3 separate regions of the Homo sapiens genome follow, and regions 2 and 3 are each linked to region 1. The links are contacts of gene promoters, found by promoter capture Hi-C in blood cells and fetal thymus (Javierre and others, 2016). All regions are on one chromosome and are shown on one strand. The core of a region is centred on a gene start or on the middle of the fragment in contact, and the rest is flanking DNA. Distances in the headings are between cores, read along the strand shown.

Region 1 (4,276 bases), core at 962-3,461:
TTCAAATTGAAAACAGTTTAATTTTCAGTCGCTCATGTTAGGTTTTTTTTTTTTTTTTTAGACAGAGTCTAGCTCTGTCGCCCAGGCTGGAATGCAGTGACACGATCTTGGCTCACTGCAAGCTCCCGCTACCACGCCCGGCTAATTTTTTTGTATTTTTAGTAGAGGCGGGGTTTCACGTGCTAGCCAGGATGGTCTCGATCTCCTGACCTCGTGATCCACCCACCTCCGCCTCCCAAAGTGCTGGGATTACAGTCGTGAGCCACTGCGCCCGGCCTCATTTTAGTTTTGATGCAAATATAGTTAAACCCTCCCGGGTTCTCCCTTCCGGGTTCAAGTGATTCTCCTGCCTCAGGCTCTCGAGTAGCTGGGGACTACAGGCGAGCGCCACCAGGCTCAGCTAATTTTTTCTGTATTATTAGTAGAGACGGGGTTTCACTCGTCTCATGTTGGCCAGGATGGTCTCTATCTCTTGACCTCGTGATCCACCCACCTTGGCCTCCCAAAGTGCTGGGATTACAAGCATGAGCCAACGCGCCCGGCCTATTTTTATTTATTTATTCTTTTTGAGACAGAGTCTTGCTCTCTCTCCCAGGCTGGAGTACAGTGGGCGATCTCAGCTCACTGCAGCCACTGCCTCCCGGATTCAAGCGATTCTCCTGCCTTAGCCTCCACAGTAGCTGAGACTGTAGGAGCGCGCCACCATGCCTTGTTAATTTTTGTTTTTTCTGTAGAGACAGGGTTTTGCCATGTTACCCAGGCTGGTCTTGAACTCCTGAGCTCAAGCGATCCTCGGCCTGGGCCTCCCAAAGTGCTGGGAGAACAGACGTGAGCCACCGCGCCTGGCCCCCTGTGGGTGTTTTTAAAATTAGAGACACTGAGACCCCGACTGAAGAAGATAGGCCACGGGGCTGCTGTTATCTAATATTTATCAGAACTCACCCGACTTGTATGGGCAACGCAGCCCCTTTTCACTGTTCTTTTTCTTTGCAAACTCCACAGTCCTCCCTGTCGCTGCCCTACAGTACTGGTTGGAAGGTCTTTCTTCTTTGACTCTAGGTGGGGAAATCCAGAACGAGGCTTCGCCTCACCTGCCCTAATGCCCAATCTTCTACTAGCATTCCAGGCAGCGCTTTCTAGTCACGTGAGGGATACCTAACCACTGGAACTAAATAAGATGTGGGGGAACAACTGAGGTCATCACCTAAATTGCTTGATACTCTCTTTTCCAGAAGACGAGCCCCCTTTCTGAGTTTATGGCAGAAAGTGAATCCCTCCCTCCCTCCCTTCCTTTCTTTTTCTGTAAGACGGTGTTTCGCTCTTGTTGCCCAGGCTGGAGTGCGACGCCGTGATCTCCGCTCGCCGCAACCTCCGCCTCCCGGGTTAGAGCGGTTCTCCTGCCTCAGCCTCCAGAGTAGCTGGGATTACAGCCATGCGCCACCACGCCCAGCTAATTTTGTATTTTTAGTAGAGACAGGGTTTCTCCATGTTGGTCAGGCTGGTCTCGAACTCCTGACCTCAGGTGATCCGCCCGCCTCGGCCTCCTGGGATTACAGGCGTGAGCCACCGCGCCCGGCTAGAAAGTGAATCATTTCTATATTTGATTGTACGTGAAGCCCTCGGTAGTCCTTACTGACATCATGTCTCCTTTAGACTTTGATTACACTCCGTGTCCTTCATCTGACTCCTCTCTTCAGATTCCTGAGTCACGCTCTGTTTATGTTGCTGTTCAGGAGCGAACTGCGGCACCGCCCAAACACTGTGACGCCAGCGCGGGAGGAGGGCCGCGGGAGGGGCAGCGGAACGCGCAGAGGGCACGGTGCAAGCACGGGACAGCTCTGCATTGGCCAAAGGGATCCCAGGAGGCCTGGCCCTCTTTTCTCCTGAGGCTGGATCCCAACCAGCAGGAAAAGGCTGGATTTTCGCCTTTTGTATTTGTTTTGGGGCCCAACCAAGAAAAACAGTGGAGGGGGAATAAAACATGTTTAAATCTTTTTTTTGTCTTAAAACCATCTTTAATTTCACAGTCACAAAATAAAACATAACTCGAATGTTTTGATGTTTGCAGTGACATCGATTGTGAAAAAGGTTAGCCAGAAAGGAAACGCAGTGAGACAGAGCGCTCGGCCACCCCCTGCCCTGGGCGCCTGGCGCATGGGGGGCGGGGCGGGGCTCGCGGGGTGACGTCACAGCCCGACGCGCCACCCAGCTGTTTTTGTGCTCCCAGCTCTAGCGAAAAGCCGCCGGTATTTCTCCATCTGGCTCTCCTCTACCTCCAGGCAGGCTCACCCGAGATCCCCGCCCCGAACCCCCCCTGCACACTCGGCCCAGCGCTGTTGCCCCCGGAGCGGACGTTTCTGCAGCTATTCTGAGCACACCTTGACGTCGGCTGAGGGAGCGGGACAGGGTCAGCGGCGAAGGAGGCAGGCCCCGCGCGGGGATCTCGGAAGCCCTGCGGTGCATCATGAAGTTCCAGTACAAGGAGGACCATCCCTTTGAGTATCGGAAAAAGGAAGGAGAAAAGATCCGGAAGAAATATCCGGACAGGGTCCCCGTGAGTGTAGAGGAGCGGAGGGGATGGGAGGGGAAGGGCCCGCGGGGGCGGGGGCGGGTAGTCGAGATGGCTTCCCTGGGGCGCCCAGGCGGCTCTGGAGAAGGGAGGTTCCGAGAATTACTTAATCCTGAACGCCCTTCAGTGCCAGAGCCAATGGACGTCCAGACTGTAGAGCTTTTAAAACCCCGTATGCCTGGGCCCCGAACCCCACTTCAGGGCTGACGGCGTTTTGGGGGCCGAGCCGCCGTCTTCAGTGACTCAGCAACCCACACACGGTCTCAGCAGCTGAGACCGTGTGTGGGTTGCGGTGCACAAAATAGGGCCCCTGTGGGCGAGACTGGTTAGATCGGGGCCATGGATTGGCTGCCTTTAAGAACGCAGGGACATTGTGCTGTGCGGTGAGGTTTGCGCAAACCCAGTCGATTTCTGCCTTGGCTGGTTCTCCTTTAATGAAGTTGACTTTGGCTCTCATATCATTGGTCTTGGGACGAAAAGGTTCAGAAGCTATTCAGTAATTTTCTTGCATTACAGGGGGTTAGGGGAGCACAAGACAGTCCTGGCCTGGAAAACAAGGTCACGTTCTCTGCCCAACAGCCCTCTTGCCTCATCGTTCTAGGCTCCGGGGCTTGTGTGGGGACAGCCAGCCTCCTCGTGTTGATTTCTGATCACCTGGTACCTGGTCGCGATAAGGCAGGACTGAGACGTTTTTTCTCCGTTTTGGACACCGGCTTAAGTAGTTAAAACTACCGCAGGCAGTGAGTAGGAACAGAAAAGTATTAGGTATCTTTCAGCATCCGGGCGTTTTCCCCATTACCCCCTCCCCCGCCCACTTGCCTGGTGTTTCTCTAATGCAGGCTGCGCAGCCGAATTGGAGGGCAGAATATGGCTTAAGTGGTAGGGGGACCAGCAGCTGTTGGATTTTGGAAATGGAGGAGCGGAGATTTTAAAATTGTGCTCTTTATCTTCAGGTAGGAACATTAGTATTACGTGTCACATAATGGTAAAATAATTGCTGTTATCTGATGTCTTTTCTTGACTCACAGCCACTCTGGGTTTCTTCTCTAATCCTTACCTAACGTTCGTGGTTTTATAGCTACCAGAAGCCACCAGGGCCTTAGCCCAGCAGTAGAAACCTCTTGTAACCCTTTTCCTTTAAAAAGAAAAAAAAGTCATTAGGGCTCTTCATTCCCCAGGAATTACAAAAAGGTTTTCAGCTTATAGAGGGGTGAGCTAATCCCTTACTCGGGAAAGGATCCTTTACAAATTACTTTCCTGGTTTCTGGACCTTGGATACCTGAAAATTTTGCCCAGTTCTGGTGATACCAATCTTTTGAGCAATGATATTTAAAAAATACAATCAAGTTTTATTGATAGTTTACCCTAGCGGTATTATAAGTACTCAGTCTGTAATCATTGACTTACTTCCTTACACGATTACCCGTTCTACAGATGGAGTATTCAAAGCACAAAGAAATGCAGTAACTTCCTAAAGGTTTCACATTGCTGATCTGTGGTTGAGCTGGAATTCCAACCCTGTCTGAAGGACTGTGGAGCTCTCGGGTATCTTAACCTCCATGCCATATTGTTTCTCAGTTTCTAATATAGTTGTATTAACCAGAATTAATGACGTGCTGTGGACTTTACACTGTTAAGTATTGGAAATAGATAAATATTTATGTGCATTCACTCTGAATATTTTAGAGCATTCTGTTCTTTTCCTGC
Region 2 (4,276 bases), core at 570-3,069, 300 kb after region 1:
CGTAAATATTATCCTACCCCTCCTCTGCTACTTCACATAAAACTAGTGGCTATCAGGCATAAATCCCCTCACCTTCTTGCTTATTTATACTAGGGCTGAAATCAACACTGGGGTGGGAGTTTCAGACTTGTTCAGTGGGAAGAGAAATTTTTTTCTGAGACAGATGGATGGGTCCCTGTGTATTTGTTGGAGGATTTGCAATCATTATCCCATTAATGGTTATTTGGATAGTTTCGAGATGTTTCAAATTGTTAACAGCACTGCTGTAAATATTCCTGTAAATTTGCATTGTTGTACTTATGCAAATATTTCTCTTGGATATGTAGTTAGAATTCCTGAGCCATGTTCAGCTTTAGAAGATAAAATCAAACTGTTTCCCAAAGTGGTTGTATCAATTTATATTTCCTTTAATAACATATAAGAATCATATAAGGCCGGGCACAGTGGCTCACGCCTGTAATCCCAGCAATTTGGGAGGCTGAGGCGGGTGGATCATTTGAGGTCAGGAGTTCAAGACCAGCCTGACCAACATGGTGAAACCCCATCTCTACTAAAAATACAAAAATTAGCTGGGCATGGTGGCGTATGCCTGTAGTCCCAACTACTTGGGAGGCTGAGACAGGAGAATCACTTGAACCTGGGAGGTGGAGGTTGCAGTAAGCTGAGATAGTCCCATGGCACTCCAGCCTGGGTGACAGAGCGAGACTCCATCTCAAAAAAGATAAATAAATAAAAGAAGAAGAAGAATCATGTAGCTCTCCATACTTTCAATGCTTGGTAAATTTTTTTTCTTAGCCATAATTTAAAAAATAATTTTTTTGAACTCAGTGTCTCTGTTTCCTAATTGGCCAATAGGTTTTAGCCATTGCAATCTACTTTCACCATAGCTTACTCTCCCAGATACTCTACTATATTGGGTTCCCTCCTACTTGTCTCATCAAAATATCATTTTTTTTTGCTATTTACTCATATTTTATTTCTAAATGTTGACTTATCCTAAAGATCATCATTCTGACCCCTTCTCTTCTAACATAATATAATACTCCCTGATGTTACAAAGCTTTTTTTGTCATCTGGCTCTCCTTTCCTTACAATGTTTTCAAATACTTATTATATTAATTGATAATTCCACAATTTATATATCCAGTCTAGGTATCTCTCTTGATCTCAGACATTTAATCCTTCCATATACATGCCAATGGTCTATGTCTGCTACTAAAAGCTCACTCTGGAGACACAGACCAATTCTTTCTGGTTGTCTCCAGTGATATACCACAAAGCACCTAAATCATCACCATTATCACAACAAACATAGTTTAATGTTCTTCTTGTGTTTTCTATAACATTTAATAGAATTATATCCATCAAGGTGTGAAGGCTGATATGATATGAAATTATGGATTTCCTCCTCTCCCTCAACCACTGAATCCAATGCAGATTCCTGCAATTCTACGTTGTAAATATTTCTCATATAGGTTTCCTACCCATCATTGCTTTTTTTCATGATGCCAGTTTAGACAGTCATTGTCACTAACCTTGACTCCTAAAACAATTTCCTTTACATCCCCCCACCCACTTTCTAGGCTACTCAGATTGACCTCTCTAAAATCCATATCTGCTCATGTAACATGAGTCATATTGGTCCTTCACTTAAAATCATCTAATCGTTTTCTTTGCCTTTAGGGGAAATCTAAAAATTTTTAACATAGTGCAAAAGACCCTCATGAAGCTTCATACCTGTCCAAATCAATTTCTAGCCACATTTTTTATTACCCAAGAACTATTTGCAATTATAATACCTAAATCTGCCCTTTATTCATATTCTTCACTCCATCTACATTAGTCTTGTTTACCTTCAGCCCCCCAATTCCTGCTTGTCCTCTACTTCACATCAATTATGATCTACAGGGAAGCTTTTATGACCTCAAGATGTTATATGACATTCATCTGATCCTTTCATGATACGATTACAGCACTAGCAGTATTTTATATTTCAATCTGCTTCACTTAAAAAAAACTTCTCCTTTCAACTGAGCTCATTGAAAGCTGATAATTTAAAAAAAAATTCTGTATCATCGGTGCCATATATAGTTCCTGACCTATAGAAGATACCCAAAGTTGTTTGTTGAATGAATGAACCAAATAATTAATAATAATCAGAATAAAGATATTGAAAGAAAGTGTAGAGGACAGTTTTGTAAAAACTGATGTGAAATATATCAAAACTGGTATATTTCAGTTTATTACCCAGGAATTGTTGGCAATTATAATACCCAAATCTGTCCTTTATTCATGTTCTTCACTCTATAACTCTAGTAACATTTTATTTGTATAGAAAGGACATCAAATTTATTCTCTTTGTGATTTAAGCAGTATTTCAGTAAGATAAAAATGTAATAATCAAAGATTCTCCCAACTCACTGGTCATATGCAAACCCCATTTTACACACAAAAAAACTTAGTGTTATTTTATATATAATATACGTATACACACACACATACTAACTTATACTAGTATACTACATGTATATATATGTGTGTGTATACATGGGTACACTATGTCTGTGTGTATATTATATACATACTACATACATACTAATTTATACTAGTATATATATATTAGCTTATTTTTAGTATAAAATAAGTGTTAGTATACATATGTAAAATAGGTGTTAGTATATATATACACTAACATATTTTTAAATTTTATTAAAATAAATTATTTTAAAATTTTATTTTTAAAATTTCACTGGTAAGTAAAGTGTAGTGTATCTGAAATTTTTGTGTAATCACAGCTATATGCTCTTTTGTGTGGCTAAATGATAAACAAAAACTAAATGATAACAACATAATAAAATCATTTTCATCAATATCATCAGTACCATTATGATTGCTAACATGTCTCTAGAACCTTATAGTTTACAAAGTTTCGTAGAGGTTCCACAGTTATAGTGTCTCATTTTTCATCCTGTCTTATTGCTATCATATGAAATATGTGTAGCTGATACTCATGCATATATCGTAAGCCTGCAAATGCCAGCCAGCAACTCCCAGGGTTACTGCAACAGTATGCCATAAAAAGTCTATACAAAATCAAAAGGCAGAATATATAGTGAGCATGACAAAGCCCTCAGAATTAGAGCAAAATGAATATTTATTGTAGAGTTTAAGATTAAAATCACTATGCTGATCACAAATCTCATAAAATATTACACATAAATACACCTCTCAATATGTAAAGAAGGAGATATGCAAACAGGGACAATTTGACTTCCTCTTTTCCTAATTGAATACCCTTTATTTCCTTCTCCTGCCTAATTGCCCTGGCCAGAACTTCCAACACTATGTTGAATAGGAGTGGTGAGAGAGGGCATCCCTGTCTTGTGCCAGTTTTCAAAGGGAATGCTTCCAGTTTTTGCCCATTTAGTATGATATTGGCTGTGGGTTTGTCATAGATAGCTCTTATTATTTTGAGATACGTCCCATCAATACCTAATTTATTGAGATTTTTTAGCATGAAGAGTTGCTGAATTTTGTCAAAGGCCTTTTCTGCATCTATTGAGATAATCATGTGGTTTTTGTCTTTGGTTCTGTTTATATGCTGGATTACATTTATTGATTTGCGTATATTGAACCAGCCTTGCATCCCAGGGATGAAGCCCACTTGATCATGGTGGATAAGCTTTTTGATGTGCTGCTGGATTCGGTTTGCCAGTATTTTATTGAGGATTTTTGCATCAATGTTCATCAAGGATATTGGTCTAAAATTCTCTTTTTTGGTTGTGTCTCTGCCCGGCTTTGGTATCAGGGTGATGCTGGCCTCATAAAATGAGTTAGGGAGGATTCCCTCTTTTTCTATTGATTGGAATAGTTTCAGAAGGAATGGTACCAGTTCCTCCTTGTATCTCTGGTAGAATTCAGCTGTGAATCCATCTGGTCCTGGACTATTTTTGGTTGGTAAGCTATTGATTATTGCCACAATTTCAGAGCCTGTTATTGGTCTATTCAGAGATTCAACTTCTTCCTGGTTTAGTCTTGGGAGGGTGTATGTGTCGAGGAATTTATCCATTTCTTCTAGATTTTCTAGTTTATTTGCGTAGAGGTGTTTGTAGTATTCTCTGATGGTAGTTTGTATTTCTGTGGGAATGGTGGTGATATCCCCTTTATCATTTTTTATTGTGTCTATTTGATTTTCTCTCTTTTCTTCTTTATTAGTCTTGCTAGCAATCTATCAATTTTGTTGACCCTTTCAAAAAACCAGCTCCTGGATCCATTA
Region 3 (4,276 bases), core at 1,270-3,769, 270 kb before region 1:
TATTTGTTCCTTTCTCTTTTCTTCTTTACCTGTCAAATTTTCTCCACTGGGCGCTCTGACTCCTTTTAACATTATTTCTATTTCAGTACAGCTGGATAGAAATGTCATCATTAGGAGATGCAAAGCGGTCCCCTTCTAATGTGATAGTCACCACTCCAGAGATGGCTAATGGAGATGTTTAATGACCTTAAAAATGCATAAGTCTCATTCCCCATCCTCCTTTTGCTAACGATGGTCATTTTTTGTAGCACAATAATCTGAAAATTTTAGAATTATTTTTGTTCTTGTACAGTACAGCATGTAAATTATAATTTAACAACACCTGCATTTAACCTGCTAACACGGTTTACACACTATTAAATCCCGGCCCCATAGAGAATGAGAAGATGAGATGCTGATAAAATTTGCTTCTGATGATGCTGAACATACCATCTATTTTTTCTCTTCTTTTTTTTTTGAGACGGGGTCTCGCTCTGTCACCCAGGCTGGAGTGCAGTGGCGCGATCTCTGCTCACTGCAAGCTCCGCCTCCCGGGTTCACACCATTCTCCTGCCTCAGGCTCCCGAGTAGCTGGGACTACAGGCGCCCGCCACCCCGCCCGGCTAATTTTTTCTATTTTTTAGTAGAGGGTAAGGGGTTTCACCATCTTACCCAGGATGGTCTCCATCTCCTGACCTCGTGATCCGCCCACCTCAGCCTCCCAAAGTGCAGGGATTACAGGCATGAGCCACCGCACCCGGCCAACCATCTATTTTTTCAATATTATTTTCCACATTGTTTGAATGTCTGTAATGTGTGTGAGACCCAGCTGAATTTAAAATGTGGTTCTACCATTTACTATAATCCCAGGTAAACAATCTTTCATTTGCTCATTTATTTCAGCAAAAAATGATAAAAATTCTTCATCATTTAGGGGTAAAAATATTTAGCATAGTTCATGGTACAAGTTAATACTCAAAAGAGAATTACTCATTATATCAGGAAATGTAAAAGCGAAGAAAAGAAAACTAGGCCAAAGTAAAATATTAAGAGGTGCAGAGACTTTAATATCAGCCAGATGTTAACCCTTGCCCTCTGTCCTTCTGAGACCCGTGTAAGTATTAGCTGGAATCTAAACCCCATAGGTTTGTGGGAATCCGGAGAACTCTCCATGATTTCTTCAAGTCACCAGGGCTTCCTTCTTCGTGGTCCTCTCCACTTCTAAATACTCACGTTTTGCTCCCATGACTCATAGCACAAAACTCGATTCTTTCACTAGTTTCAGCAACGACAGCAACAACAAATCCACTTAATGTAAATAATTCGCTAGTTTCATAACTTGACTAAAGACAAAACAAATAGATTAATTCTTTATTTACTGGACCTCCTGAGAAATAACTGAGCACAGCCTCGAAAATAGAACGTAAATTTCATTAGCCCGGTTTCTAAAACACGTGCAGTGTGGAAGGAGTAGAGGAAGTGAAACAAGCTGTTGCTCTCCTCCTATCTTTCTCCAAATTTTACCTCAGGACCCTGATGGCAGGAAGAAAAGGACACTATGTGACTTCAGTGCCTAACAACACAGTCCTGGAAGTTTACGCTGTTGATACTATAGCAAACATTGTAATCATTTTGTGAGGGATTGGATTCTTCCCTTTATACTGTAGCATAAACATTGATATATCAATGTGTTTAGCCATTTAGAAATTATAAAGAAGGGGAGTGTAACTGACATTTCATTGAACATACCTTTCATATATTACAAAATTGGTCTATTAATGCTGAAATAAATGTTCACATTTGGCCACTCTTTATCACCATCACTGTAGTGAAACAGGTATTCTTTACTCAATAGATTACGATACACATAAGTAAACAAATAAAATCTAAAGAAAAGATTTCCTACATTTATATTTTATGCCATACATATAAACATGTGAAATTCAAAATTCAAAACGGAGGAAAACAGGATGGTTAATCATGATACATTTCTGGTTATACTGTAATTATTTGGGGGAACTTCACAGTACTGGTGTACACTTTCCTAACTTCTAGGGTAACTTCAAATTTTTATCCTGCCCATTCCCAAAATATATGTGTATTTTTATGCTTATCCAATCCATAGTGCCAACTAATAACAACCGTTATGGGCTGAATTATAGGCCCCCAAATTTCATACATTAAGTGCCTAACTCCCAGTACCTGAGAATGTAACAGATTTGGAGATAAGGTATTTGTTTTTTTTAAAAAAGAAGTGATTGAGGTAAGAAAAGGTCTTTAGGGTGCACCTTAATCCAATATGACTGATGTCCCTATAAGAAGAAATAAGTTAGACACAGACTTGAGTGTGTACAGAAGGCCACATGAACACAGAGTGAGAAGACAGCCATCTGCAAGCCAAAGAGAAGGGCCTTAAAAGAAACCAACCCTACTAACACCTTGATCCTGGACTTAACGGCCCCCAGAGCTGTCTTTGAGCCACCCATTCAGTGGCATTTATTACAGCAGACTTAGCAAATTAATACACCAATGTTAACTCCTGTCTCATTTTTTGATGGGCCTGTATATAATATGTAATGCCACATTAAGCTGTTAATATTTTCTTTCAAGAAAATATAATATTATGTTTTATAGTCAGAAAGTTTAATCTGTCTTTTTTTTTTACATTTTTCAAAGATAAAATATAATATTGGGTATATTATCCCTCTCAAATCATTGTGCATTTTCACCCCAAATTGAATGTAAATACAATAATCATAAGAGAATTTTCTCAACTTTAGAAAGTTCCGCTACTAACTTTATTATATTATATACAACATGTAATATCTGGCATGGAGTGCTACAGAACCAGTATCTATTACAAAGTGGGCAGTCAATAAATGGTAGCTAGTGGTCACCTTTAGTTCACCAAAGAATACTGAGAACTCAATATCCTTTATATGACCTTCTCCACCCTGACGTTGGAGAAATTTGTAAGTGTTTTAAGAACAAAATAGATTCTAAGTGTATGATGAGTTTTTTCAAGCTATGGAATATAAAGAAGTTCTTGAATTTTAAACAAAGGTAAACTGAGGCAAACACGTTCTCTTCTTAACTTACTCTTGTGCATGTCAGGCCACTGGTGGGTGCGGAAAGTGTAGGCTTCAGTACACTCTCTAATGCTCTCCCATCAATGAAAGGCCAAAGGAACAACAACAAAAAAAACAAAAACAAAAGGCAAGGTCCCAGGTCCAAAGAGGAAAGGATCAAACTGCTTAGACTTGCATCCAGTTCAGGATAAAGGGAACACTTGTGACTCACATGTGGTATATACCAATTCCATATATATACATAAATATTGATATGTGATGCCAAACCCTCACTAAAAACCGTAACTTTGTCTAAATATTCTCTTTGGCATCTATTTTTTGAGGGTCTTTTGGGGGGATGATGTGGAGGAATCTATGGAGGAAGCCAGTTATAGACTCAGAATCTTTACCACGCTTTACACATTTAATAGTAAATACATGTTAGTAAGGCTTACCAATTGCTGAATGTAGCTCCATCTGCCCACATCCACGTTTTGTTTGCATTGTGCTTGCTCAGTTCAAACCAATATAAAGACGGCCCCAGATAATGCATCAAAGATTCCCTTTACAAAATACAGAGTGCTGTCATAGATTTCTTCTAGTTTTCTCATTCTCACTCCCTCCAGTGCCCTTTAAGTCTATTATTATCTTGCACAGTTACTGCAAAGGCCGTATAACATGATTCCCTCCGTTTACATTTGAGACTCAGTAGCCAACCTCATCACAGCAAAGATTATGATTCTTTTAAAACTTAAGTCAGATCCTATTACATTTTCCCTCATAATTTGGCAGTATCTCCCTATTTTGCTTGGAGCAAAAACTAAACTCTTTACAATAGCCTGCAAGACCCTAATGATCCGCATTCTTCACTCAATCCCTCATTTTAGATAGATTGACTGGCTGCTTCTTTTCTGTTCCTTGAATATTCCAGACATTCACTGGCCTTAAGACACACGCTCCAGCCATTTTCCTTTCCTGGAAAGTTCACTTCTAGATAGTCCCTTACCTGCTTCACATCCTTCCTAAAATGTCACCATCTTATTGGGATATAACCTTACCTGCAGTAAACCCACTCCCTTAATTTTCATTTTTTTGCATAAAACTTTCCAACTTCTAACACAATATATAAATTACATATTTAATAAGATAATTTTTCATTGCTTATCTCTTCCCCTAGCATGTAAACTCCACAAGGGCAAAGATCTTTGATTCTTTGGTTTGCTAATGTA

What was found. The method cuts DNA at HindIII sites, captures the fragments that hold promoters and counts their contacts. A CHiCAGO score of 5 or more calls a contact.
Region 2: a contact is called between a fragment that was not itself captured here and the fragment with the promoter of GABARAPL1 in region 1, in 2 of 17 cell types (total CD8 T cells and naive CD8 T cells). The highest score is 7.3, in total CD8 T cells.
Region 3: a contact is called between a fragment that was not itself captured here and the fragment with the promoter of GABARAPL1 in region 1, in 1 of 17 cell types (neutrophils). The highest score is 5.3, in neutrophils.

What each region holds. Positions count from the first base shown.
Region 1 is chr12:10,210,666-10,214,941 of GRCh38, forward strand. GABARAPL1 (GABA type A receptor associated protein like 1) reads left to right here and starts at 2,212. Exons shown (of 4, transcript NM_031412.4): 1 at 2,212-2,554. The coding sequence starts at 2,465. GABARAPL1-AS1 (GABARAPL1 antisense RNA 1) reads right to left here. Exons shown (of 3, transcript NR_170310.1): 1 at 3,977-4,276; 2 at 3,389-3,704; 3 at 2,984-3,297. RefSeq lists an enhancer at 1,449-1,991 and a silencer at 2,085-2,344. The HindIII fragment of the contact is 15,130 bases long and covers 1-4,276 here.
Region 2 is chr12:10,513,301-10,517,576 of GRCh38, forward strand. All of the region lies in intron 3 of LOC105369657 (a long non-coding RNA gene), which reads right to left. It also overlaps a transcript of EIF2S3B not described here. Among named protein-coding and RNA genes, the nearest start is that of EIF2S3B, 9.5 kb to the left of the region's middle. The HindIII fragment of the contact is 184 bases long and covers 1,728-1,911 here.
Region 3 is chr12:9,935,561-9,939,836 of GRCh38, forward strand. LINC02470 (long intergenic non-protein coding RNA 2470) reads right to left here. Exons shown (of 5, transcript NR_104634.2): 4 at 3,503-3,610; 5 at 1,019-1,254. Among named protein-coding and RNA genes, the nearest start is that of CLEC2A, 5.3 kb to the left of the region's middle. The HindIII fragment of the contact is 6,613 bases long and covers 1-4,276 here.